6 separate regions of the Homo sapiens genome follow, and all the other regions are linked to region 1. The links are contacts of gene promoters, found by promoter capture Hi-C in blood cells and fetal thymus (Javierre and others, 2016). All regions are on one chromosome and are shown on one strand. The core of a region is centred on a gene start or on the middle of the fragment in contact, and the rest is flanking DNA. Distances in the headings are between cores, read along the strand shown. Region 1 holds the start of ANKEF1 (ankyrin repeat and EF-hand domain containing 1). Region 2 overlaps NDUFAF5 (NADH:ubiquinone oxidoreductase complex assembly factor 5). Region 3 overlaps ESF1 (ESF1 nucleolar pre-rRNA processing protein). Region 4 has its middle 2.7 kb from the start of TASP1. Region 5 holds the start of ISM1-AS1 (ISM1 antisense RNA 1). Region 6 has its middle 7.8 kb from the start of ISM1.

Region 1 (4,639 bases), core at 778-3,277:
GGAATCAAACTTACAGATTAATAATTAGTAATCAGGTCACGTAAAGTAAATTATAAAAGAGCATTGATACCAAGATTGGCAGAAAGTTTTTTGTGTGACAAAACCAAGTTTTGGCTAAGATACACACTGCTGATGGGAGTCTAAATTGCTGTATATGTCGGGAAAACAAGTTGTCTTTATCTTGATGTTATAAATAACCTATGACCCAGAAATTTAACTCCTAGACATATACTCTAGTGAAACTCTTGAACGTGTGCGTCCAAAGACATTTATAAACATGATCTTAGTAGTATTGCTTTTAGTAGCAAATTCTGGAAACATCCCAAATGTCTATCAATAGTGGAATTGATTTGAAAGGGGTGTGGAATGGTAATATAATGGAATAGCCTACAGCTGTTTAGATAAAGGAACTCCAATTAAACATACCAACAAAGATACATTTCAAAAACAAGACGTTGAAAGGAAAAAAGTCATCAAAACAATACACAACATTCTACCACATTTTTATAAATTCTCAAAATATGCAATATTAAACATGCATTATTTAGGGAGGCATTCAATGTAGCAATGCATTTTTAAGAGGCTGGGATGATAAATGTAAAATTCAGAACAGGTATTATCTCTGGGAACAGGAAGAGGAGGATGCAGTGTTGGGAAGAAATACATATAAGTACAGCAGTAGAGGCAGACTTTTTTTTCCTTTTCCTTTTTCCTTTATTTTTCCTAGCTTTCTTTTTCTTTAGCTATGGTATTTCTTTAGCTATGGTATGGTATGGTATGTACTTTCCATATATCATACAGTATATTTTGGTGTGCATGAAATAGTCCTTAATAACATTTTTATTATTTTTTATTTGACGTTTAAGTTCAGGGGTACATGTGCAGATTTGTTATATAGGTAAACTTGTGTCATGTGGTTTTGTTGCACAAATTATTTTCTCACCCAGGTATTAAGATTAGTACCCATTAGTTATTTCTCTTGATCCTCTCCCTCCTCCCACTCTCCACCTTCTACCCTCCAATAGGCCCCAGTGTGTGCTGTTCCCCTCTATGTGTCCATGTGTTCTCATCACTTAGCTCTCACTCATAAGTGAGAACATGCAGTATTGGGTTTTCTGTTTCTGCGTTAGCTTGCCAAGGATAATTGCCTCCAGCTCCATATTCCTGCAAAAGACATAATTTTGTTCCTTTATATGGTTGCATAGTATTCCATGGTGTATATGTACCGCATTATCTTTAGCCAGTCTATCATTGATGAGCACTTAGGTTGATTCCATGTCTTCGCTCTTAACATTTTTAAACAGTCTCTGAGTAGAATAGGGTAGGCTGGTGTAAGGAATTACTGTTTTTAATTGGAAGCAATTACATACTGCATTAAAAAGCATATATATATAGACACACATATATATGTTTTACATTCACATAATCAAACCAAAGCTTTCAGAATTTTCCGCCAAAAAGCATGTGTGGAGGGAGAGAGAGGGGTGTTATGGTGCATTTGTAGGCCCTGAAATAAAGTGATCTCCATATTTGCTTCCATTTGTGTATAAATATTTTTTAAGCATATATGCATCCTAGAGTATGGAAAGAAAATTTCTGGGAAGATTTGCAAGAATCTGTGGCAGTTGAGAGTAGGTTCACTTTCGCTTTATTGTGTAATTTATTGTATTTTTCATTTAATTGTACTTTGTAAACTAAATATTTATTGTATATTTTACTTCATTTTTTAATTGCCATATGCAGCTTTAATTTTATAACTAAATTACGTTCTGACCCAGGGCAGGAGGTGGGAGAAGAGAATGAGAGAAGGGCGGAATCCTCAAGACAGCAGCATTCTGCGCTCCGCCCTGGAACACCCAGCGCAGCTACCCCATCCCGCCCAGGCCGGCCACCTGGCGTCGAAGCCAGGCGCGAGGGGCGGAGGCGGAGGCGGGGGCGGGGGCGGAGGCGGAGGCGGAGGCGGAGGCGGAGGCGGAGGCGGAGGCGGAGGCGGAGGCGAGCACCGCCCCACCGCGCACGCTGCGGTTGCCCCGGCAGCCGCGCCCTGCGTGGCGGAAGCTCACAATCAGCCCGGTCCCTCCGGCTTCCACCCCGCCCCCTGCGCTCACCTGCCCGCGCGCTCGCCTTCCGGGGACCCGGGGCCCATGGACACATACACCCAGCCCTGCTGTCCCGCGCGCCAGCTCACCAGCCCTACCCAAGGGACATCATTCACGCCTGGGCGCCTCCGCCGGGCTCCGGGAGCCCAAGGTCGCGGCTGGGCCAGCGCTGAGCGTCAGAGGACGAGAGCAGGGGCCTCCCCGGTCGCCCCAGCAGGCCCAGGCACATAGGTGCCCAGAGATCCCTGGCTTCTGATCGCCCGGAAGACTAAGAGGTGAGCATGACACATGGCTTTTCCTTTGACGTTACATCTCTACCCCCTCCACTCCTCTCTTCTCCAGATTTTTCTGGAGACTAAAAAGTGGAAAGCACAGTAGAGAACCCCCAACATGTAAACTATCGCTTACACTTGTGGGTGAGCTGAAACCCGCAAAAGTTTGGTGTATTCATAAGGAGCCTATATTGAAGGACTTTGCTAAATGTTTTACAAGGATCATATCTCATTTCCTTTTCACACAGTCCCATGAAGTGGGCACCATTGCTATTGCCAGTTCACAGATGCAGAAACTGAGGTAAAAACTAGGTAGGTAGCATATCCATATTTATATCCAACTAGTTTGTGTAAATAATGATACAGGGAAGGGAGGATCACAACGGATTTCCCCACCTCAAACCCTACATTCCACTGTACCAAGCTTGTCTTCCTCCATTCCTCTTTCTAATGATCCTTCCTTGTCGCACAGCCCCCCTTTGAGAGTTAAATGACCTGAACACACACAGATTCCCACAGATTTTCATGTAATTTCCGAGTATTCAGACCCCGAACATGGACCTCAAGTCAAGACATTCTGCTCTATTCCACTACCTTGGTAGATGGTTAGATGTGACTAAGGTGGCCCAGGGTCATGCTGGGGAAAAGTACAGGTGTGCTTGTATGTGGAGGATCCTATATGCTGCTCAATTTACAAGGAACCCAGGACCCAAGGGCTACACTTGTGTGATTTCCTGCAGTGGGGTGAGCTCTTGGTCAGTCTTAGCAGTTGATTGTGAAGGACACTATACAGGGTGCTGCCCTCTCCCCAGCACTTCAGGGCTTTAGCTGGGAGGGAGGCAGTCCACAGGAAACCGACCCATGGACCTACTGAATTCATCACTGTAGCTGCTAATTAATTCTCCGTTAGAGATGGGTGCTAACAGAGGCAACATTGAAGTCCCTGATTGGGAAATCCTTATTTTCACAAATCAAGTGGCATTGATTCAGTCTAATCATTACCTATGTAGGAGCATCTTGCCCTATTCCATAGATGACACATATACATATGCAGTATGATGACACCGCACCTAATCGGAATATGGCCGATAATAATAAAACAAGCCATAAATAGCAGCTAAGGTGAGTGTCACCAAGCCGTGCAGCAAAGTCCAAGTGGATGACTCTGAGGCAGCCTCAGTTGGTTCCCTAGTCCACCGCATGTTATAAACAGATTAAAAGGCAAAGGAGGCCTGGCCCGGTGGCTCACGCCTGTAGTCCCAACACTTTGGGAGGCTGAGGCGGGTGGATCACCTGAGGTCAAGAGTTCAAGATCAGCCTGGCCAACATGGTGAAACCCTGTCTTTACTAAAAATACAAAAATTAGCCAGGTGTGGTGGTGGGCACCTGTAATCCCAGCTACTCGGGAGGCTGAGGCAGGAGAATCGCTTGAACCCAGGAGGTGGAGGTTGCAGTGAGCCGAGATTGTGCCACTACACTCCAGCCTGGGTGACAGAGTGAGAGTTGGGCTGAGGGTCGAGGGTCATGGGATAGGGCGAGACACCAGGGGAGTGTGTGAGGACAGAAAAGAGTCTTGAGGACCTAGCCCTGGGCACCCAACATAGGCTTCTTGAAATGGGGAGTCAGCAAAGGAGCCTGAGCAGGAGGGGGCATTGGTGTTGGATGGAAGCAGGCGATGGAGATGTTGTGGTGCCTAGAGAGACACATTTAAAGGAGAGAGAGCTCACTGCCGTAGAGAATGTAGGTGAGGGAGCAGGCTTGCGATGGAGAAAAATGGTGCATAGTTTCAACTTTTGTAGTAAGATGGAATCTTTTCATTGCAAATGTTGGAAACTTAGCTAACTAGCTTATACCAAAATAAGGTGACGGGGGAGAAGATGTATTTACCCACAAAGTGGTAGATGGCTTCTGGCACCATGGAATCCATGTTGCAACTAATGCCATCAATCTCAGTCTCTCTCCATCCTCCAAGCATGGACTCTCTCTGTGGCACCCAAGAGAGCTACCTGCGCCCCAGCCCCACACCATACTGCTTAACAACTTCAGCAGAATAGTCTTCCCTCATAGTTCTGGATGATGGGCTGCTGATTGGTTGATGTCTTTTATGCACATATGCTTGAGCTTCAGTGTACCTGGAAAGGGATGGTTCCCTCAAATGGGCCAAGCCTAGGCCACAGACGCTTTCCTCTGGCAGGGGACAGAAGGGACAGCCCCATCCAAACGACCCGGATAGGATTCCCTATGTGATAATGGAGTTCTTTTCTCATA
Region 2 (4,639 bases), core at 889-3,388, 3.8 Mb after region 1:
ACGGCACATCATTTTTTTTGTCAGTGAATTTATACTTATGTGTGTCATATATCATCTTTTTAAATGGCTACATGGTATTCTAATATATGAATACTCCATAGTTTATTTAGCTAAACTTTCTATTGAAGGGCAGTTACGTTTCTAGTTTCTCAATAACCAACACTGCAGTGAAAATCCTTATGTGAAGCCACATTGTATGTTTGATTTATTTTTTTCCGTGGGTATAAATTCCTGGTAGCGGAATTTATGGATTCATTTTGATGTTCATTTAAAAATTTTTTGACATACATCTTCAGACTGCCCTTAGAAAGACTGAACAATGACAAAGGTACTTTTTACTACTTTGCTTTGGCAACACTGGGCCAGCCTTTTCGTCTGGGTCAGTCTGACAGCTGCTGATATCTTTTGACTATTGGTATTTCTTGTGAATTTTGTAAATAATTTTGTGATATGCCTGCACCTTGTCCTCTTTAGCTATCTTGTGTTTTTATTCTAGGTGATTTGTAAGAGCTTGGTTTTTAGGGATATTAATCCTTCATTGTATATGTTGTAAATATTTTCCTCAGTTGTTTACATTGTTTATTGATTTCTATTAATAGAAGTTTTTAATTAGTTTATCATCAAATATATCAGTCTTTTCCTTTACAGTTTCTGGCTTTTGAATTATGTTTACCTAGGCTTTTTCATCTAAGGGTAAAATGTCCAGTCCACCCATATTTTCATCTAGTACTTCGGTTGTTTCACTAAAACTTTCAGCCTTCTTTTTTCTTTTTTTTTTTCTGAGACAGTCTTGCACTGTTGTCCAGGCTGGAGTGCAGTGGTGCGATCTCAGCTCACTGCAACCTCCGCCTCCCGGGTTCAAGCGATACTCCTGCCTCAGCCTCCCGAGTAGCTGAGATTACAGGTGCGTGCCACCACGTCCAGCTAATTTTTGTATTTTTAGTAGAGACGTGGTTTCACCATGTTGGCCAGGCTGGTCTCGAACTCCTGACTTTCAGTGACTGCCCACCTTGGCATCCCAAAGTGCAGGGATTATAGGCGTGAGCCACCACGCCCAGCCAAACTAGCTTTCTGAGATTTGTTTTGGTGTGAGGTTGGTATCCTGTTTATGTTGTTTCAACTAGTTAGCCATTTTTTCTGGCTGATGTTAAGTCATTTAAGAAATGCTTTTTGGGTGCCTTCTCTGTGCCACCTTTGGGAAGGGGGGTAGAAACTGCCAAGTAAATATAACATTGACTTCAATTTAACAAACAGTGATTGTGTTAGTAATTGAGATTCTACATAAATGTGATTTTGATCTTTCGTTTTCTTAACATTAGAAAAATTCCTCAGAAACAGAAATACCTACTGTCAGCGTTTTAGCTGATGAAGAATTCCTTCCCTTCAAAGAAAATACATTTGACCTGGTGGTTAGCAGTTTAAGGTTGGTAATCCACTTTTTAAAAACCATATGTTATAAACAGATCATTCTTGCCATAAAGTTTTGCTATGAGGCCAGGAGCGGTGGCTCACGCCTGTAATGCTAGCACTTTGGGAGGCCGAGGCGAGTGAATCTCTTGAGGTCAGGAGTTTGAAACCAGCCTTGCCAACATGTTGAAACCCTGTCTTTACTAAAAATACAAAAAAGGTAGCTGGGCGTGGTGGCATGCATGAACTTCCTAAAGTTCATCTGTGATAGAAGGTTTTTCTCCCCAGTGCATCTTAATATTTTGGAATTGCTCTTGTTGGGAGCAGGAGTTTGAAAGAGCATATTGGCTCCTGTATTCAAATGTTAGAGCAATTCCAAAATAATAAGTTACATTGGGGAGAAAACCCTTCTATCACAGATGAGTTTAGCAAGTTGGGGGAAAAAAAAGTTGAGGCACTATATCATATTATCTCCACCAGAGAGCATAGAATATATTCTTTCAAACTCCTGCTCCCAACAATCATAACTCATTCTGGACAAATTCTGGACAAACTCATTCTGGACAAACTCAAACTAGGACAGCTAGTTTTCCTTTAGCCTTAATTCTTCTGGCCAGGTACAGTGGCTCTCACCAGCAATCCCAACACTTTGGGAGGCTGCAGTAACAGGACTGCTTGAACCCAGGAGTTCGAGACCAGCCTGGGCAACATAATGAAATGCCATCTCTACAAAAAATTAAAAAATTAGCTGGGCAAGGTGGCGCATGCCTGTAGTCCCAGCTACTTGGGAGGCTGAGGCAGGAGGATCACTTGAGCCTGGTAAGTTGAGGCTGCAGTGAGCCATGATCATGCCACTGCACTCTAGCGTGGGTGACAAAGCAAGACCCTGTCTCAAAATAATAATAATTCTGTACCAGAATGTAGTTCTCAAGATTACTCTTTTCCCTTTATGTTTTCTACTATCTTCCTCCACATATGTTACACAAACATGTAATGCAAGTATATATCAAATAGGTTATAGGATACAAGGCACTGAGCCAGATTTTTGGGTGAATACAAAAATGAATTAGGGATCCTGTCCTCAAATAACTCAGTCTAACAGAAAAAATATCTTTGTGGTATCTTCTTTCTCCTGTCTTATAGTCAAATAGATTTTCTTTCAGAAGTTCAGCAGGCTCTCCACGTCCAGTTCAACTCTTTCGATAGCTGTTTTTAGGGTGACCAGTCATCAAGGTGTGCCCAGGACTTTGCCACTTTTGGCCTGAAAGTCTTATGTTCTGGGAAAGCTGGTCACCCTTGATGTTTTCTTTCGTGAGTGTGTAATTCCTTCCCTGGTTTTTTAGATGTGCTGAACAAAGTTAGAAAACTACTCACATTCTGTCATGAAATGAAAAATATGCAGAGCCTTGGTCTATAAAGAACCCTGGGCAGGGAGTCAGAACCTGAGTTTTTATGTTAGCTCATCTGCTTGCTATTTGCAGGTGACTAATTCTGTTGCTTTCTGTTTTCCCATAAGTATGATAGAGTTTATAGTATGAGCTCCTTAGTTTTTAAAGTATCTAATACTTGTCGAAAAGCATTAGGAAAGATAAACATGAGCTTAACACAGTATGGTTTGAAATGGACATTCAGTTCTGTCCTGGAACTCAGCATAAGGGGAGGCAGTTATACCAGAAAAGTGTGACCGTACTCTAAGGAGACTGGGAATATGACTTTCGCTGTCACGCATGACTACACTCTAGGTGAGAGTAGGGTCAAAAGAAAATTCAAGGCCCGGGCACGGTGGCTCACGCCTATAATCCCAGCCCTTTGGGAGGCCGAGGCAGGCAGATCACTTGAGGCCAGGAGTTCAAGACCAACCTGGGCTACGTGGTGAAACCCTGTCTTTACTAAAAATACAAAAATTAGCTGCATGTCATGGCGCATGCCTGTAATTCCAGCTGCTCGAGAGGCTGAGGCATGAGAATTACTTGAACCTGGGAGGCAGAGGTTGCAGTGAGCCAAGATCGCGCCACTGCACTCCAGCCTGGGCAACAGCAAGACTCTGTCTCAAAAAAGGAAAAAATTTAAGAGATTAAGTTTCAGTGTATACAGCTCTGGTTTTTGTTTGTTTTTATCACCTTAAAAAATGGATGTACCACACACCTACTAGAATGGCCAAAATCCAGGACACTGACAACACTAAATGCGACAAGGATGTGGAGTTCATTATTGGTGGGAATGCGAAATGGTACAGGCACTTTGCAAGATAGGTTGGTTGTTTCCTACAAAACTAAACATACTCTTAGCGTACGATCCAGCGATTGCATGCTCCTTGGTGTTTACCCAAAGGAGATGAAAACTTACGTCCACGCAAAAACCTGCACACAAATGTTTATAGTAGCCTTATTCATAATTGCCAAAATTTGGAAGCAGCCAAGATGTCCTTCAGTAGGTGAATGGATAAACTTTGTTGTATCCAAACAACAGAATATTATTCAGCACTAAAAAGAAACTGTCAAGCCATTAAAATATTTGGAGGAAACTTAAATGCGTATTACTGAATGACAGAAGCTAATCTGAAAAGGCTACATAGTGTGTAATTCCAACTGTGACAATCTGGAAAAAGCAAACTCTGGAGACAGTGAAAAAGATTGGTGATTGCCAGGGGTTGTGTAGGGGAAGGATGAATAGGTGGAGCACAGAGGATTTTTAGGGCAGTAAAGCTACTCTATGATACTATTATAATATTGGATATATGACATTACACGTTTATCCAAACCCTTAGAATATACAACACCAAAAGTGAACCTTAATGTAAACTATGGACTTGGGGGATAATCACTTATCAGTATAGCTTCATCAGTTGTAACAAATATACACTCTGGAGATATTGATAATGGGGGAGGCTGTGCATGTGTGGGAATAGGAGTATGTAAAAAAATCTCTGGGTTTTCCTCTTAATTTTGCTGTAAACCTAAAACTGCTCCAAAAATAATTAAAAATAAAGTCTTAAAAATTGATTTTTTAAAAAATGGGATATTATTGGAAAACTCACAGATTCAAACTTTTGATGAGTTACACTGTTTGCCTTGAAAAAATTTAGATCTGCAGATAATTTTTTTCTAAGAAAGTCTGACTTAGAATAATACTATATTTCTGTAGCTTAATTGATTTAACTGATGAGCTTCTTTGAGCATTTTTACTACTTTTTGCAAATAAGGTCTCAGAATAGCACCGTTTAGATAAAATG
Region 3 (4,639 bases), core at 1-2,500, 3.7 Mb after region 1:
TGCTTGTACTGTGTTTTTCACAAATAATCTTGTTTATTCAAAAGGTTACCTCATCAGCACGAGGAGCATCTTTATCTAATTCTCTCCAAGCATGCTCAAAACCAGATTCTTCTGGAAACAAATCTGCCGTATCATCTTCATCTTCAGAACTAGTTTCTATATTTCCTTTACCCCTTGCAAGATCAGGGCCACTGTCACTTTTATCATCATCCTCACTATCCTCATCTTCATCCTCCTCTTCATCTTCATCCTCCTCTTCATCATCTTCACTTCCATCGTCATCACCTGAAGCTCTACCAACACTTGTAATTTCATTTTCAGATTCCTCATCACTTCCTATTTCACTAACGCTTTCTGAATCTTCCTCCAGAGCATCTTTGTCACACATTTCACCATCTGTTGAGTTTTCATAACCATCACTGTCTCTTGTCATTATGAGTTGAACCACTGCAAAATGTTAAAGGGGAAAGAAATTAAGAAAAGATATATGCTGAATTAAACTGAATCCAAATTATCTTGACATCAACTCCAGTAAAAATATAATTTCTATGAAACACAGTAAAGACAAATATATATTCAGTAAATGCTTAGTCAATTTTTATGATAGAAATCCTAACCATAACTTCTATGAAACAGAGTAAAGGAAAATACACTTAACCAAGTTATTTAATGGAAATCCTAACACATGCTCACATCACGCAAGTAGATCCAGACATTCATTCAATACTTAACAGTGTGCCTGCTACGTGCTAAGTGCTCAATATACAACAGTTGGTAAAAGAGAAGCAAACAGTGCTCTCAGTGAAACTTCTAGCTGAGTGAAAAGAATACATGGATATCAAATAAAATCAATATATAGGAAAAGTTAAAATCACAACTAAGATATCCCAGAAAGAATGTTTTCTAAGGGGATTTAATGGGGTCCCTAAGTGAGTGATAACTGAGCTGTTACTTGAAGGATGAACAGGAGTTAAATAGTCAAAGTTAGACTAATAGATGGAAATTTGTTTGAAAGAGCAAGGAAGGTACCTGTAAAAATCTGCCAATAGGAAAAAGCCAACCATCATGTCCAGATCACAGATAGCACAGAATCAAGTAACAAATGGAAATGAAGAGTTAAGTAGAGGCCAAGCTATCAAAAAACCATATAGAGAGCTTGGACTTTTTCATAAAAGCAATGGGAAGACACTGCTGTTTTCAAAAAAGAGGATGTCATCTTCTTTTGGATATTGTCATCCTCAGACTTGCATATTGAGGAGATCACCTTGACTATACTGTAGAAAACTGACTTGGGAAAGTAAAGAACAGATGTGAATATAGTAAAGGTAGTACAGTACAAAAAGCAAGAAATGAAGGTAGCACTAAGTTGGGTGGCAGTATGTATGCAGAGATGTACATGGATTTCAGAGTCAGTCAGGAAGTGAAACCAATAATTACCGACTGGAGATTTGACACGGGGACTGGGAGTTTTGGAAGTGTCAAAGATGAGTCATAGCTTCTTAGCTTTCAGAGCTAGTTAGCTAAGAAGATGGAAAGATGAAAAGGGAACACTGGAAATGAACTAGTTTGTTTGGTGGAGGGAAATCATGAGTTCAGTTTTGAATATGTTGAATACGAAGTGCCACTCAGTCATCTAAAAGAAAGTATCAATAATAAGAGTGTACAGCTCAGAGAAGTCTGGGTTGGAGATCAGTGACTCATTCATACGCAGTTGACAACAGAAGCTGTGATGTGGATGAGATCACCTATAAAGACAGAGAAATAATATTTATACTTTTTCTGCCAGGTCTTGAACTTTGTAATCAACTGTCATGATTAGCAATACACCAAGATTGAAAGACTGTTTTTGCTTAAGATGGAAATTTTAGTCCTCACAACTCTGAAAGGGCTCATTTCCTACTTCTAAAGCAATCACAGGCTTCTATCTACTTGGTGTGTAGATATATCTTACGTGTTTTACTCATCTTTAAGTTGGAGCTTATTTTCTGCTTACAGGCTCTAAGTTTGGAAAATTAAAAGCAAATTTAAAAGTTCAAGATTTAGAATGAAATTGGAACTAATTTTCTCTTGGTCCTATAATCTTATAATAGTTATTCACTGACCAAATATTTACTGAGTATCTACTACATACAAAGAATTGAGCTAGGATAAGGGAAAAGAGAGAAGATTTGTAACACGATCTCATGCTCTTGATGGATTCATAAATAAAAGGTAACCATTTACTGATTTATAAATCTATGTTCTCAATCACCATACAGTGAGAGACATCTAAATTTGCCTGCAGAGAGGTATTTATAAAAAGGCTTCACAAAGATACAACTTGACTTGAGACTAACTGAATGAAAAGGCATCTTGTTAGAAGGAAAAGCAGGAAATGGGCTTTTATGTTACCACCACAACGAAGCAGGGATTAATAAAAATAACTAGCCAATAGAAGTGAAAAGCGCCAAAATGAAAGCATTGTCACAGGTTCTATATATGAGATCTGAAAAACACAACATTGAAAGTTACTATGAGGTAAGCAGAATTTACTTTTAAGCAACAAGCTTAGAAATAACATCTTACAGACCCAGTCTATCTAGTATTGCAATATTTCTCAACTGTCAGTCATTATACCATTTTCATGATTTTTGAATATCATTTTTTTATTAAATTGAATTTTTTAAAAGTTAGTTTTGCTCTAAACAATATTCCTAAAGTCACAGAAGTGATAGGGTAATTACATTGTTTTCTAAGATGTTGACACAGTACATAACTATTAATATTTTAGAAGTTTGAGTATCATCAAAAATCTTCTCACTTATGACAATGGTACACATACCACACTTTGGGTTATATAATAATAAAGTGTTGCATAAGAGACTTAAAGAGGTCTTCCATTTCAATGTTTTTAACAATATCAACTGCATTCAGAGTATTTATTCATTCAATAAGTATCTGCAGCCGAGCACAGCTGCTCACGCCTGTAATCCCATCATATTAGGAGGCCAAGATGGGAGGATCTTGAGCCCAGGAGTTTGAGACAAGCCTGGGCAACATGGCAAAACTCTTTGTCTCTACAAAAATACAAAAATTAGCTAGGCATGGTGGGGTGCACCTGTGGTCCCAGTGACTCGGAAGGCTGAGGTGGGAGAATCACCTGGGCCCAGGAAGTTGCGGCTGCAGTGAGCTGTGATTGCACCACTGCACTCCAGCCTGGGCAGCAGAGCGAGACCCTGTCTCCAAAAATAAAAATAAAAAACCCCAAAAAGTATCTGCTTAGAGCCCACAATGTACACAGCCTTGTGCAAGATAATGTGGGGTTACACAAATATAAATGTCTCTATTCCTAGACAGTATTGCTCTAGTAGTGACTGTAAACATTACTACTTATCCAGCTACTTCAAACAAAAAACAAAAAAAAACCAAAAAAACTGCTTTACCATTTTCCCCCAATTATAAACATAATGAATGATCATTACAAACCAAAAAAAGTTAGGAAAATATGGTTAATAAATAAAACAAAGGTGACTAGCAGTAATTTTTCATTCAAAGATAACTGGTTATTTTAGTATACAACCATATCCCTAAATTTCTTTTCTTTAATTTAAATACTAATTTGTTTAAAATAACTGGTCATATCGTTATTTTGGAACCTATTTTTAAAACTTCATAGATCACAGATGTTTGCATATATTTAATTAATCTCTTAATGATTTGTTACCATTTTAATTTCTATTTTCATTTTTTGAGACAAGGTCTTGCTCTGTTGCCCAGGCTGGAGTGCAGTGGCACGATCTTGGCTCACTGCAACCTCTACCTCCTGGGTTCAAGTGATTCTCGTGCCTCAGCCTCCCAAGTAGCTGGGATTACAGGTGTGCACCACTATGCCCAGCTAATTTTTGTATTTTTAGTAGAGACCGGGTTTTGCCATGTTGGCTAGGCTGGTCTCAAACTCCTGACCTCAAGCAATCCACCCGCCTCGGTCTCCCAAAGTGCTGGGATTATAAAGGTGAGCCACTGTGCCCAGCCAGTTACCGTTTTATTTTAAAAATAATGCTGCAATGCACATTCTTTGCACACATCCAATTATTTATGTAAAATAGATTCTGAGGAGTGCAAGTGCTGGGCATGAACATTTCATGATGACAAATATCACACTGCAAGTCCTCACATCACCTTTACTTCACAGCACTTAAAAAGGCCCTTGCACACAGTAATTGCTGTAATAACTGATGAATGGATAATGAACAGAAGATTATATATGGAGCCGTGTAATCCTTATTTATGAGTAATGCCTTTCCTAGACTGTGGAACCAACAAAATTACTGCAAGCAATGTGGTGGGGTAGAAGGAGTCAGAAGACTTGAGTTGCAGTTCCAGGTCTGCATGTCCTTACATAAGTCACTTTAATCTTGTTCGCTGATACAGTCTTATTGCTCAAGGTAACTAAGAAAATTAAATGAGAAAAGATATGTAAAAAAGTCTGTAAAATCAATCTAAAGGATTATATAGCTATGTTATATTAATTCAGTGCCCCAAATGAAGTGGATGCTAGACTAACTTACCTCACTAATTCAGTGTCAAATCAACTTTGCTGCCGGTCCCACTCCAATCTTATTCTTCAATTTTAGTAACCGGATTCCTATCCTTTCTTCCC
Region 4 (4,639 bases), core at 843-3,342, 3.6 Mb after region 1:
GGGGCACGAGCCTTGCCCAGGGGGAAGGAGTGTAGGCGGTCTTTTATCGGCTAGGATGTAAGACCGAAACCCAGTCATGGGTTTTGATGACCCATGACTGATGGATTTTCCTTATACTTCCACCAAAACATCACGTCGAACTGAATGTAAAGGCAGAAATGAGAATCTAACTGGCTTCTTTAAGCCAGCTATAGAGGAATTTACACTAATGCAAAAGATAACACTTTTCTTACCACATTTTTTTGTTTTTGGAAAATATTTATTCTTCATTAAAATGTCTTAATTATATTAACACATAATGGTTTATTATTGTTATTTTAAATAACTTTTTAACATTTCAGTTTTTTGTTGGTTTTTTTCTTTTTTTTTTGGAGATGGAGTTTCACTCTGTCAACCAGGCTGGAGTGCAATGGCACGATCTCGGCTCACTGCAACCTCTGCCTCCCGGGCTCAAGCGATTCTCCTGCCTCAGACTCCTGAGTAGCTGGGATTACAGGCGCTCGATACACACCCGACTAATTTTTTGTATTTTTAGTAGAGACGGGTTTTCACCATGTTTGCCATGCTGGTCTCGAACTCCTGACCTCAGGTGATCCTACTGCCTTGGCCTCCCAAAGTTCTGGGATTACTGGCGTGAGCCACCGCACCCAGCCACATTTCAGCTTTGTATTCAATTTTTAATATAGTAAATATTAATAGATGTAACCCACAGAAACAAAAGCTTTGGAGTGTTCTCTACTATTTTGGGGAGTATAAAGGTATGCTGAAACCAAAAAGTTCGAGAACCACTGATACCATTATTATAAATATAACCTATGTGGTTTTATTATGTAACTTGGGGCTTTTTTTCTTTCTCTTCTACCACTGACTTCTTAGGGAGGGGCAAGGGGAAGAAGTTTATTACATAGTAAGAATAACAGTTTATTACATAGCAATAGTAACTGAAACCGATTTTGTTACCTAGAAGTAGGATGGATATTATAACAAAACATAACATAATAACATCATAAAAGTAAAACGTGTGGCACTGGCTTTGGAACTAGGTGAAGCAGCAAGAGCAGGAAGGGATCCAAAGTATTAACAAGAGTCTAAAAGGACTTGAGGAAGCTGCCAATGAGGGCTTAAAGGGAGCTAAGGAAGATGTTATTGGAAGCTGGAGAAAATGGGGCCCTTGTTATATAGTGCCAGAAAGTTTGGCCCAGGCATTAGGAAGCAGACATAAACCATCCCCATTGTGACCTTTCTGAATTCCTCACCCGCAGAATCCATCAGCATAATAAAATAGTTGTTCTTTTGCACCTTTAAAGTGGATTTTTACACAGCAATATTAACTGGAACCAGCAGGAATAAAAGAAAGATGTTAAAGTTTTAAAAAGACATAGACATGCTCCCTTCCATTTCTTAGGCAACATTCTTCCTGGAATTTAACTACATTGTAATAATCATCTCCCAGTGCTGCTCTGTATACTTTTGTCTTGGGTATCACACCCAGATGCCACACAGGCCATCCTCTGGTAGGTGAATACTGCTCAAGTAAAAGTAACAAAATTCTTCGGACCCTTTTTTTTATTATTATTATTGAGGCAGAGTCTCACTCTGTTGCCCAGGCTAGAATGCAGTGGTGCGATCTCAGCTCACTGCAACCTCTGCCTCCCCGGTTCAAGTGATTCTCCTGCCTCAGCCTCCCCAGTGGCTGGGATTACAGGTGCCCGTGACCACGCCCGGCTAATTTTTGTCTTTTTAGTAAAGATGGGGTTTTGTCATGCTGGCCAGGCTGGTCTCGAGCTCCTGACCTTAGGTGATCCACCCATCTCGGCCTCCCAAAGTGCTGGGATTACAGGCATGAACCACCATGCCCAGCCCAGACCCAAGTTTTAACATTTTTAACCTGCATTGGGTACAGTAACAATGAGATCCTTTGAAATATTAATAACGAACAGTTGTAATATCTATTTGATTAACTCAACATGTTAAATTTGAAAGGAAAGTCTATACTAGTAAATCTCCTTCAGAAAAAATCTGGTTGCCTCCCTCTTCCTGTTCCCACCTCTCCCAAACCCGGAAAAGCAGCAAGCTGAGGAATTACTTCCTTTATCTCAAATAATCATGTCTGCTGCATCTTGATCTTTGTACTCTAAGTAAGCCCCCTCTGTCCTGGTTCCCTGGGGGTCTCCCTTTGTTTTGTATTCCTGGAAAACTATTGCTTTAACACATGTGTCAGAAATGTAGCAGAACAATAGTGATAGTTTTCAATTGTTGTGCCGCAAGTTAACACCAATTCACCTGCTTAAGACAACACAAATGTAATATTTCCGTTTCTGTGGATCAGGTGTCCAGGTCTCTGCTCAGATCTCAGAAGGCTGAAATCAAGGTGTCAGTCAGAGCTGCCATCTCATCGGATGCCCAGAGCGATTCTCCAAGCTCATTCAGGTGATTGGCAGAATTCAAATCCTTGCAGCTGTAGAGCTGGCCACTTTTGTCTTCTTCAAGGTCAGGAGGAGCAGTCCTCTCTGACTTTTCCACCTTGAAAGGACTCAACTGATTAGGTCAGGTCCCCCAGGATAATCTCTCCTTTGATGAACACAGAGTCAATGATTCGTCGTCAAGTTTCAGGAGGGATGGCCATCATATTCTCAGCTTCCATCCACACTCCAGGGGAGAGGATCATACAGGGTCTGTGCACCAGGGGTAGAAATCTTGCAGGTCATCTTAGAATTTTGCCTACCACGTGGAAAAAAGAAAGTTTCAATTATAGATGGACTGCGACAACCCTTCAAGCAGTCCTATGGTAGACAACAGTTGTTTCGCCTGCCCAGCATGAATTCCTTCTTATTTCTCCTAACAGCACCCCACTTCACTTCCAGGGACTGCCCTTCACCACTTGCACCCAGCGTAAGTGGGACTGTCCATCAGGATGCTCCGTGGGATGATCAACTGACCCATGCTAAGCTAAAGCTGCTTCTTGCCTGGAATTTGAAAATTGACAGCAATAATGCAAAGAGTAAAAGCAGTTGTTTATTCAACCAAGGTTACAGAGTTCCCTGTTACTGCTCCAGAGCTTGTATTTTTCCAAAACCTGCTTCCTTAGTTTTTCTTTCAATTATCTTAGGTACTCCCTATCCTTCCAACAAATTCCTTTTATCTTCTTTAATATATAAAATTTTGAGCAAGACAAATAATCCAGAGATTACTTGACTCCCATGTCAAGCCCTGATGACAACACATTGTCTTCGGAGCCCTGACGAAGACTGGTAAGATGAAAGGTGGCCCACCTGCCATCTCTGGTTTCATCCTTGTTGTCTGTCAATTATCTGGCCAGCTATGTTGTCATCCCCCATTCATAGGGCAATATAAATATTCTTCCTGCACAACAAACTGTCTGACCAGTTTGTGATTTAACACCTTTCTCTGCAATCTCTTAGCTTTTTTATTGTAACATGTAAAGAGTGTCCCCCCATTCTCATAAGCTTGTTATAAACATGAAATACAATTTGCTGAACCAGAACCAGTGTCAGCTTCTCAATCACTTTTTCCTAACCACCTTATTTTAAATTGCAATCACACTACCCTGCCTGTTCTCCTTCCTGTTTTATCTCTATCAGTAGCACACACCCCAACTAATCCTCTACAATTTTCCCCATTCTTTTAGTTTATTAATCATCTCTCCTGTAAAGTCAGTTCCATAAAGATGGGGCTATCTTTATTTATTTTTTATTTTTTATTTTTTTGAGACAGTGTCTTGTTGTAGCACCCAGGCTGGAGTGTAGCGATGCTACCATGGCTCACTGCAGCCTCAAACTCCTGGGATCAAGCCATCCTCCTGCCTAAGTCTCCCAAGTAGCTGGGACTACAGATGTGAGCAACTGCACCCAGCTAGAACAGAGATTTAAAAAGAAAAAAAAACATTTTATTGATGTTAAACATAAATACAGAAAAGTACAGCTTGATGATTCTTCATATAGTAAACACAGTGTGTAACCATTCCTCAGATCAAGTGAAAAAAATCATGACCTCGCCCCAGGGTAATCCTGACATCTAACATCACACATCCATTTTCTCTATATTTAAACATTATATGAATGGAATTTTACAGTATGAAAACTCTTTTATGTGTATTAATGTCACACGTTGAGATTAGTCCACGTTGGATGTTTATTCTCCTTGCCATGTGGTATTTCACTGAGATAATTTATCCATTACATTGTGTTTTCTTTCCAACTTTTAGGTTCAGAGGTACATGTACAGGTTTGTTACATGGGTAAATTGTGTGCTGCAGGAGTTTGGTGTACAGATTATTTTGTCACCCAGGTAATAAGCATAGTACCTGATAGGTAGTTTTTTGATCCTCACCCTCCTCCCACTATGTACCTTCAAGTAGGTCCGGGTGTCTATTGTTCCCTGCATTGTGTCCATGTGTACTCAGTGATTAGCTCCCACTTACAAATGACAAAATGTGATATTTGGTTTTCTCCTCCTGCGTTAGTTTGCTTAGGATAATGGCCTCCAGCTTCATCCATGTTGCTGTAAAGGACATGATCTCATTCTCTTTTATGGCTGCTTAGTATTCCATAGTGTATCAGTACCACATTTTCTTTATCCAGTCCATCGTTGATGGGCATCTAGGTTGACTGCATGTCTT
Region 5 (4,639 bases), core at 1,538-4,037, 3.2 Mb after region 1:
CAGCTGCTTTCAGGGGCTGGCATTGAGTGTCTGCAGCTTTTCCAGGCACATGGTGCAAGCTGTCGGTAGATCTACCATTCTGGGATCTGGAGGACAGTGGCCCTCTTCTCACAGCTCCACTAGGCAGTGCCCAAGTAGGGACTCTGTGTGGGGGCTCCGGTCCCACATTTCCCTTCTGCACTGCCCTAGAAGAGGTTCTTCATGAGGACCCTGCCCCTGCAGCACACATGAAGTCCCTCCCACAACACATGAGAATTCTGGGAGATACAATTCAATTGAGATTTGAATGGGGACACAGCCAACATATCAACATGCCCTTGGCCCAGCAATTCCACCTGAGTATGTGCCCAACAGAAATCTATTCACTAATGCACTCAAAGACCTAAAAAATAATGTTCATAGCAGCACTGTTTAAAATGGCCCCAACCTTGAAACAACCCCAATGCCATCAACAGAATGGATAATAAGGTAGTTAAGTGTACACAGTGGGAATGAACAAATGACAACTATATGCAACATGCACAATTTCACAAATGTAATGTTGAGTGAAGGAAACCAGGCACAGTAAAGTACATGCTGGATAATTCTGTTTAGGTAAAGTTCAAAACCAGGAAAAAGGAACCTGTGCTGTTGGAAGAGAGTTACCTTTGTCAGGGAAGTGATGAAAAGGGAGTCCAAGGAGGGCAGCTAGGGTGCTGGTAATGTTTTGCCTCTTGATCTAGGCATTGGTTGCCTAGGTGTCTTCAGTTTGTGAAATCTCATTGAGTTGTAGAGTTATATATGTGTATATTTCTGTAGGAATATCATACTTCAATTTTAATAAAAGAGTAAAGAATGCAGCAGGCAGGGTACATGGTGTAGAAGAGATGGCTGATTTTCACTGGGAAAGATTACCCACAGCCCTGGAGTTCACTCTCTGGGCTCCCTGATGTGCGTACTATCCCACAGATTGTTCTCCAAATTAGAATGAATGCAGGCTGGTTTCAGTATTATGGGGGTGCTCCTCTGCCTCAGGTCCCAGTGCCATTGTTACAACATCAAAGACCAACTGCTGGCTGAGATGCGGTCCATATGAAAAGAGTGACCAGCAAATTTACTGCTTGACTTCATTCCCCTTAAAAGGAACTGGCTCCATGGTCCTCCTTCAAAGCTCAATTGTAGACATATATCTTCTTTATAGGACATCGTTTACAATAAAGAGGAGCAATAACTTAAAATTTAAAAAAAAGAATACTTTTGAGAGCACTGTGAGGTGGACATTCCATTTAATAAACATCACTGTGGTTACATTGCCCAAACATTCCCAGAAGTCCAGCCATGGGCCTGAGAGACTTCTACTGGACATGGTGACTTTTGGGGACTAATTTGAATTATATTTTTATGCTCTAGCCCTCTCCCTAGGCTCTGAAAGTTCTTGAGAAGGTCATTAATGAGAGGCAATCTACTTCAAACCAGAGGGCCACCTCACTAAAATCAGGCAAAATGGCAAAATTCATAGCCCATTACTCATTAACTTATTTGGAGCTGCCCTTCAGTAGGGTAAACATTTTTTTAAGGGTTGGGGCCAAATTAAACTCCTGGATCGATTATACATAGTTCCCCAATACCCACATGGACATCACTCCACATAATTCCAGTGTGAAAATCTCACAGACTTATTAGCATTTCCAGATACTAGAACTCAACTAGAAAACAACAAAGTTGTTTTTATGCCTATCAGAAAATGAAGAATGTTATTAACTTTCCAAGAAGGAAAAAAGTAAAATTATTTATAATATACAGGATGTTTTTGGCTTCACATGGAGTCTGACCCAGGTGGTGGAGAAAGTCACATCTACGATCAAAATGACCAGCCTCCTGAAAACTGACCAATCCAGAATAATCCTTTCAGGTTCACTCATGATAGCAGTTGATCAGCCCATAGAGGATACAACGTTCTAAAGAGTGGGCAAGTCATCCACTTCTGTTTAACCCATTACTCCTGAAAAGGTTCAGCTCTCCATACTTTGCTGGAAAAAGGCTAACAACTCAGTGCATCCTTCCCTCTCTGCTCCCCTCACTGGTACATTCAGGAAGACACGAACCAGGTGAGACAACTGAGAGCTCCTTACTGAGAGTGTGAAGTGTGATGGTGGCACAACATGCAATTCCGAAGACATCATGAAATGAGATAAATCTGGGGAATCCACATCAACTAGAAAAAAACTGGAAACATTTGAAGAGGCATTGGGATCACAAAGAGAGTGAATCTAAACATTGAACAGCAGGTATTAAATAGAAATAATGAAAGGCAAGTTCTCAGGAAAAAATCTGTGGCAGACTAGGTATTCGAAGTTCTGTTCCAGGTTCTCCCCAGGGACTCATTGCCCTGAAACTCTGTCTGGTGTGGTTCTCTCATGCCCCACAATGGTTCTTTCACTTCTTATTCACCAAGGCCAGGATTAATGCTAAGGTCTGGACGAACCCAATAATGGGCATGAATGGCCTTGGCCTTAAGTTTTCAGGGATCCATCTGCAGGGTCCTCCCTGAGATCTGAGAAGGGTTTTACTTACTTCTTTCATCTTAAGGTGAATGCTAGTGGGGGAATTATTGTGGTGTGCCCCAAGAACGTTCTGTGTCTTGGTCCTGACAATCTACATGAAGTACCTTTTGTGCCACCAGGATACGTGGGCACATGACAGGTACTCACATACACAAGGGTCACTGCACATGGCTGCAGGAATGCCCAGGTTGGACCGGGGCTTCATCTGTGCTCCAACCCACCTGCACTCCATGGTGAGGCACTCTGTTTAGAAGGCAGGTTGCAGACACTCACCAAATTCTAGAATGTTGTTGTAGGCAAGAAAGCCAAGCCCCAATGTCTCATTTCATTGACAAAGAATCTAAAACCTGGAGAAATTAAAAGATTTGGCTAAGACCATACCATTCATTTATCCTACAGCCAGTACCAGACTCCAAAGCAAGTCATCTTTCATGAAGCCACACAATCCCCCATTTCTGAACATCTGTAAAAGTTTTTATAGCCCCACTTAGCTAAAGAGAATTAGAGTAAGTGTACATCTAAAGTGCTGGGATCCTGCTACATGGTGGTTGCTCTTAGGTTGTTACAGGAGCAGAAAGGTAATTAAATGGACATGAATTGTCTCTTTTATTTAATATACAACCAAACTGCAGTAAGGCAAATGAAATAATGTACATATAAGCATTGAGCACTGCCCAGCCACATGGCATTCTACAATTCCATTCATTCATTCAGCACTTTCATATCGCGTGGCTGTGATCAGCAGATATTGTGCTAGGCACTGGAGATTCAATAGAGAACAAGCTTATGTTCTAGAAAGAAAACTGACAATAATTGATTCAGAATAAAGGAATTATTATAGATTGTGATAGGTGCTTAGCAGGACATAAACAGGGAGCAAAAGATAGGGAATAACTGGGAGTTCCTACTAAAAGAGGGTGGTCAAGGAAGGACTTGATGGAAAAGTGACACTTGAGTCCTGAGCTGGGGGAATAAAAGGACCAGCTCTGCAAAGAACTCAGGAGAGCCAGTCAGGCAGACGGAATCACAAACACCAAAGCCTTGAGATAGGAAGGACTTTGGCATGACTAAGGGATGGAAAAGAGACTGGAGAACAGTGTGTAAGGAAGAAAGTGGCACATGAACTTGCAGAAAAAAGCAAGGATTTTGCAGGTCATGATAAAGAATATGGCTGTTCTAGGATTGGTGAGGAAGCAGCCATTGAAGAGCTTCTAAATGATGGCTCCATCTGATCAGTGGATAATGAGAGGGAAGAACATAGATATGTTAGAAAATTTCACAATAATTCAGGTAAGAGGTGATGGGATGTGGACCAGGGTAGAGAAGAGTGGATGGATGCAAGGCACAGTTCTGAGACAGAGCCAACAGGATATGCTGTTGGATTGCATTTCAGAGTTAAGAAGTGAAGAGTCAAAGACAGCTTCCAGTTTCACAAGGGTAGAGTTCATGTCAGTGGATTTATATGGGACATGTGGAATATGAGATGCCTCTGGGACATGTAAGTGAAGATAATAGCAGGGAGGCTGTGAAGTGGACAGGGAGCTGAGAGTGAGGTGTCATGATGAAAGTGGTAAAAGGAGAACCAAGAGGTGTGTCACAGAAGCCAGGGGAGAAGAATGCCTTAAGGAGAGAGGACTTCTATCGAATGCTGCTGTGAGAACAAAAAAGATGAGGCCAGAGAAGTGCTCATTCAACTGGGCAACGCAGCCATGACTGGTGACCTGAATGAGGTCACCAACTGCTCTGCAGTTGCAGAGGCATCATGGGAACAGACTCCAGTGTCTATTGGGTAAAGGAACAAATGGAAGGTGAGGAAATGGAGACAGAATATACAAATAAGTCTTGCAAAAGTTTTACTATAAAAAGGGGAGATATATGAACATGTGGTCAAAAAAGAGTTTTTGGTTCATGTAAGATCAGAGATACCAGGGCATCTGTGAGGCTGATGAGAACGATCCAATAGAAAGGGAGAGATTGATGATGCAAAACTGAGAGAGGAGAAATGAGGAGTGAATTCTTCAAGAAGGCAAGGGGCTATGTGTGAGCATTGGCCTTTCACAGAAGCAGGAAAGCTTGTTCTGTGTAACAATTGGGAA
Region 6 (4,639 bases), core at 1,599-4,098, 3.2 Mb after region 1:
GCAGGAATGAACCCTGCTATAATGACGTATAGGTTTATCACATTTTGAAACATAACCTAATTTTTGCTGTTTATTTTCAGTTTACAGTAAACATTTTTATTTTAAATGCAATATTCTGAGACTATAACTTGTTTTATTCTGCATAATCATCATAACCTCAATTAAGACTCTATTTTCAAATTTAATTTGCCATAAATGGTCATCTGAAAGTCTCAACCAAAATCAAAGTCATTTTAGGAAGGAGTCTGAGAACAAGGCAATCCTGCAGCACTAAACATTTCCTTCTAGGATTTCTCTAGTCTAGGGATTAGTAAAATAGGCAAAATTGAAATTATACCATTATTCAATTCACTCAGTACTTCTGTTATCTCAGTTAAGCACTCAGATGTTACCGTTATCCCTACTCTTCTTTCTCTCTCTGTTTTAGAATAGTTACTTTTCCTAGATATTGTACAATTAGATAATAATCATAATGAGAGAGCCACATAGGAGGCTGTTGGCTTGGCCTGACCATACCAATCCTGACTCATTGGCACTATGGTAAGAGACAGGATTTTATATATTGCTCAGGTTAAATAAAATAGTATGTCAAGTAAACAGGCCAAATCCTACCCACAGTTTCTTTTTGTAAGTTCCATGAGCAAAGAATGGTTTTTACATTTTTATATGGTCATATTTTAAATGGTTATATAAGTACATAAGTAACGCCCTTGATTTTTTCTTCTTGTGGCACGAAGTTGAAAATGGTTACTATCCAGTGCTTAATAGGAAAGAAATTGCTGACCCTCACTCTAGTCCCCCTATGACACTACGATCTTCATTCATACTAATGAAATGGAGTGGGGTTTTTGGCAGAGATAATTCTATGTGGAAACAGCATTGTGCATTCAACATACCCATTTCCTTTGCCTCCTAAGCATTATAGGAATTCTTTATTTCCCAACTGTTCTTGCAGTTGGGTGGGGTCGGTGTAACTAAGTTCTGGTCAATGGCAAGTGATCTGGCCCTTAAAGCATGCTGAGCCTCCATATACTTTTTCTCTCTTCACTTGTGTGCTATATGAATGTTCTACAAAATGTACAGCCACTAATTAGGAGCCTGGGTCCCCTCATCAAAGGAAGACTGCCCTTTGGATACCAAAGTATGAAGAGTATTGCAGCATAAACAAAAAGCAAACTTTTATTATGCTAAGCCATTGGGCTTTGGAGGGATTGTTTGTTATAGCAACCAATGTTACTTTCCCTGACTACTACAAGTATAACTGGTTTTTCAATATTACCATGCCTGATATTACCATCACGTTGTTAACTCACAGAAACACACACACACACAAAAGTGTGAGAACAGTATATCTTTCAATCTTTGTGAGTAACCAAAACATCCCTTTAAAGTTTTAATTATTTGGCTTTCATGGCCCCGACAAATAAAACCTTTATTCCAAAACACTACTTTTTGTTTATCACTTATTATGGATAAAAGTTGATGGTTATTTACTAAACTACAATTTCAGAATCAAGTTAGACCCCAGGTAAATAAAGGAAAATCTCAACCTTTATAAAATAACAACCACGCTAAATTTGCATTCCAAAACGTGTAAACAGCTCTTTCATGCTTATTCCTCTACAAAGCTATTTCTCATTTAACTTTCATCATCCTGTTTAGAGTTTACAAGTGAGAATCTTCAGATTTCAGTTTAGACACATCTGGCTCACAAATGAGGCACTACACCCTGAGTCATTGTGAAATCCTCGCCACAAGCATTGATGATGAGATCTTGTGTTTATTAGTAAAGACGTTAGAACCAGCCAGTCGCAAAGCTATTTTAAGTGGAGACATCTCTGATGTGGCATCTTAGAGGTGTCAGTTTGATCTTTCTCTGCTGAGGAATGGCTGGATTAAATTCCACTTCTAAATGCAAATTAATCAGTTTTAGCTTTCTTTCAGATATAATCTGAACTGAAGTTGTTGAAAGATTATTTCAACTACTCTTTAGTTATTAAAAAAAAAGAGTTAAAACTTCTAGCCTGTTGGATTTTTTCTTTATTTCACTGAGCTCTTTTGACTTCCCTAGGGTATAATTATATTCCTTGTGCTTTTTAAAAAATGCAACATAAAGCTAAGGTATTTATTATTTTTAAATCACTAAAAACAATTTTCATTAACAACAAATTTATTTCTCCTTTGTCTTACACCAAGCCTGACTTGCTCCCCAAAACAAAGTGAACAAAAAAAAGAATTTAAGGCTAAGCTTTTAAGAATGGATTGATAATGACTTTTGATTGCAGCAGACAAAATTACTGATTCATAGAGTTCACCCTGAGGACAGCCCTCCTCTAATATGGTCACAGCCCACTGCCCTGAGGGAGTTGGATGATGTTGACAAACAACTTGGAACAAAGTGAAGTAAATTCCCAGGAAATTAGATGAACTCATGTTTCCCCTTTCTCCACACATAAGAAAAAGATAGCCAACACACCAACATATTCTCAATCAAGAATTTTTCCCATTTAACCTCACAAAAATGACTTAGCATCTCCGTATCTTGAAATAGATTTACCCACAATTGGGAAAAATCTCATCAGGGACTCCCTGATGTGATGCACTGAGAAGAACATAACATTATCCAGGCAGTATCCCTAGCCCAAACACATAATCCGAAATTAATCCTAGAGAAACAAACATACAAATACAAACTGAAGGGCATTCTGCAAAATCAGCTGACCTAGGCTTTCAAAGAATGTTAATGGCACAAAAGACCAAAAGAAAAAGGAGGACTGGGAGATGTGGACTGTTGAAGACCGAAGGTGATAAACAGACATGACAATGACAATAAAATGCAGAGTGATTCTCACCTGAATCCTGGACAGAAAAGAGTCGCTGTAAAGAATATTATAGGGACAATTTGAACCATTTGAATGTGGTTTATAAGTTAGATCATATTATTGTGTTGATGTTAAACGTCCTGAGAATTATGCTGTGATGATGTAGGAGGATCTCCTTACTCTTAAGAAATACCTACTGTAGTATTTGAGGTGAAAGGTTGTATTTAGCAGGTTTCTCTGTGTGATGAACTACCCTATTCACAAGAGCAACCATTTATTTTGCCCCTTATTCTATTTAGGCTCAGCTTACCTGGGTGCTTTCTCTGGTTTCAGCTGTGTTCTCTTAAGCTCTCTTATGTGTCTGCGATGAACTGTAGGTCTACTAGGTGGCTCTGCTTCTGAGAATAGGCAGGTGTCAGCTGGGGCAACAGTGGTGACTAGGATCACTCCAGCAGGCTAGTCCTGGATTACCAACATAGCAGTGGGAAAGTTCCAATACAGAGACAGGCACACACACACACACACACACACACACACACACACACACACACAGAGAGAGAGAGAGAGAGAGAGAGAGACAGAAAGACAGAGACAGAGAGAGAGATTGAGAGAGAAAGGAGGCATGTAAAGCTTATTGAAACCTAACCACAGAACTGGTACAACATCACCTCTGCTGCGTTTTGCTAGTGAAAGTAAATCACAAGGATTCCACGGGTACAAAGCCAGCTTGTAAAAAGCCTGGAGACAATGGTGAGAAAACTGTGGTCATTTTAAACAGTCTACCACAAGGAACTACAGATGTTCATTCAATTATGCTTGCAACTTTTCTATAGCTTTCCATTTATTTTAAAGCAAAAAGTAATAGAGGATGGCGCAAGGAGCCAGACACAAAAGAGTATATACTGTAAAATTCAATTATATTAATTTTCAAAGGCAAATCAAATGTATGGTGAGAGAAGTCAGAATATTGGTAACTTTCAGGTAATTGGCTTCTGGGGTACTGGTAACATTCTGTTTCTTGATCGGAGTAGCAAAAATTCCATTTGGATATGCACCCAGGATACATGCTGTTTTCTATATGTACAGCATACTTTAATTTTTGAAAGTTTACTTTGAGAAATACAAAGCACGTTGGTCTTGGAAGTTAGGAAACCTGGGCTCTTGTCCTGATGCTGCTACCAAGTCCCTGTGCAATATTGAGAATGTCTATTTAATTCTCTGGGCCTGTTGCCTCAACTGTAAAGGAAGCTAAATGAACTCTGTGGGCCCTTCCCAACATGTAGACCCCAAGATTTAATTCTGACCAAATAGTTTGTTCTCTTTTTTGCCTGGAAATTACATAACCTTGTAATTATGATGCACTTTTCTCCCCCAGTTATAACATGTGCCTGAGATTCTATTTTGCTTTCCAGAATTTGCACGGAAATAATAACAACAAAGCAAATGCAATAAAGGGGTCTCTTTTCAATGCAGATAGGAACTATAAGGGTTGGCTATTTGCAGAAGAGGTCACTGGAGGAGCAGGTCATTATGTTTTAATATCACACAGAAATGCAGTAAAGGAGTCTGGCATGTCAGGGAGAATCATCAGGAATGCTTCCAAGAAGCCGGTCCTATTTCACCACCGCTCCAGCCTTGTTCTGGGGAAGAATAGCACTCCCTCTGGAATAGTTTCTTGACCTCCTCAGAAACTCACCTATTTGGTGGTCTCTTGCATTCTCTGTACAGCTAGGGGCTTTTAGCATGAAGTGAAAAGAGCTACAGGTGAACCCCAGTCTTCATAGGTTTTGTGTGTGTTGGAGCATAGGGAAGTGGAA

The links. Contacts are between HindIII fragments. The CHiCAGO score rates a contact against its expected background, and 5 or more counts as called.
Region 2: a contact is called between a fragment that was not itself captured here and the fragment with the promoter of ANKEF1 in region 1, in 1 of 17 cell types (non-activated CD4 T cells). The highest score is 6.3, in non-activated CD4 T cells.
Region 3: a fragment that was not itself captured here is called in contact with the fragment with the promoter of ANKEF1 in region 1 in 6 of 17 cell types (non-activated CD4 T cells, total CD8 T cells, naive CD4 T cells and 3 more); the score reaches 8.7 in non-activated CD4 T cells.
Region 4: a contact is called between a fragment that was not itself captured here and the fragment with the promoter of ANKEF1 in region 1, in 6 of 17 cell types (non-activated CD4 T cells, naive CD8 T cells, total CD4 T cells and 3 more). The highest score is 19.4, in non-activated CD4 T cells.
Region 5: a contact is called between the fragment with the promoter of ISM1-AS1 here and the fragment with the promoter of ANKEF1 in region 1, in 4 of 17 cell types (non-activated CD4 T cells, total CD4 T cells, naive CD8 T cells and 1 more). The highest score is 21.9, in non-activated CD4 T cells.
Region 6: a contact is called between a fragment that was not itself captured here and the fragment with the promoter of ANKEF1 in region 1, in 1 of 17 cell types (non-activated CD4 T cells). The highest score is 6.2, in non-activated CD4 T cells.

The regions. Positions count from the first base shown.
Region 1 is chr20:10,032,960-10,037,598 of GRCh38, forward strand. It overlaps ANKEF1 (ankyrin repeat and EF-hand domain containing 1), which reads left to right and starts at 2,028. Exons shown (of 11, transcript NM_022096.6): 1 at 2,028-2,374; 2 at 2,620-2,683. The region is part of intron 3 of SNAP25-AS1 (SNAP25 antisense RNA 1); the gene reads right to left. RefSeq lists a silencer at 1,819-2,368. The HindIII fragment of the contact is 1,358 bases long and covers 1,436-2,793 here.
Region 2 is chr20:13,793,519-13,798,157 of GRCh38, forward strand. NDUFAF5 (NADH:ubiquinone oxidoreductase complex assembly factor 5) reads left to right here. Exons shown (of 11, transcript NM_024120.5): 5 at 1,320-1,423. Among named protein-coding and RNA genes, the nearest start is that of NDUFAF5, 11 kb to the left of the region's middle. The HindIII fragment of the contact is 6,147 bases long and covers 1-4,639 here.
Region 3 is chr20:13,775,824-13,780,462 of GRCh38, forward strand. It overlaps ESF1 (ESF1 nucleolar pre-rRNA processing protein), which reads right to left. Exons shown (of 14, transcript NM_001276380.2): 3 at 50-447. Among named protein-coding and RNA genes, the nearest start is that of ESF1, 6.8 kb to the right of the region's middle. The HindIII fragment of the contact is 2,588 bases long and covers 1-2,544 here.
Region 4 is chr20:13,639,337-13,643,975 of GRCh38, forward strand. No RefSeq gene overlaps it. Among named protein-coding and RNA genes, the nearest start is that of TASP1, 2.7 kb to the left of the region's middle. The HindIII fragment of the contact is 2,746 bases long and covers 720-3,465 here.
Region 5 is chr20:13,236,900-13,241,538 of GRCh38, forward strand. ISM1-AS1 (ISM1 antisense RNA 1) reads right to left here and starts at 2,788. Exons shown (of 3, transcript NR_040043.1): 1 at 2,554-2,788; 2 at 2,085-2,205; 3 at 521-1,210. All of the region lies in intron 1 of ISM1 (isthmin 1), which reads left to right. It also overlaps a transcript of TASP1 not described here. The HindIII fragment of the contact is 6,320 bases long and covers 1-3,324 here.
Region 6 is chr20:13,211,190-13,215,828 of GRCh38, forward strand. It overlaps a transcript of TASP1 not described here. Among named protein-coding and RNA genes, the nearest start is that of ISM1, 7.8 kb to the right of the region's middle. The HindIII fragment of the contact is 1,204 bases long and covers 2,247-3,450 here.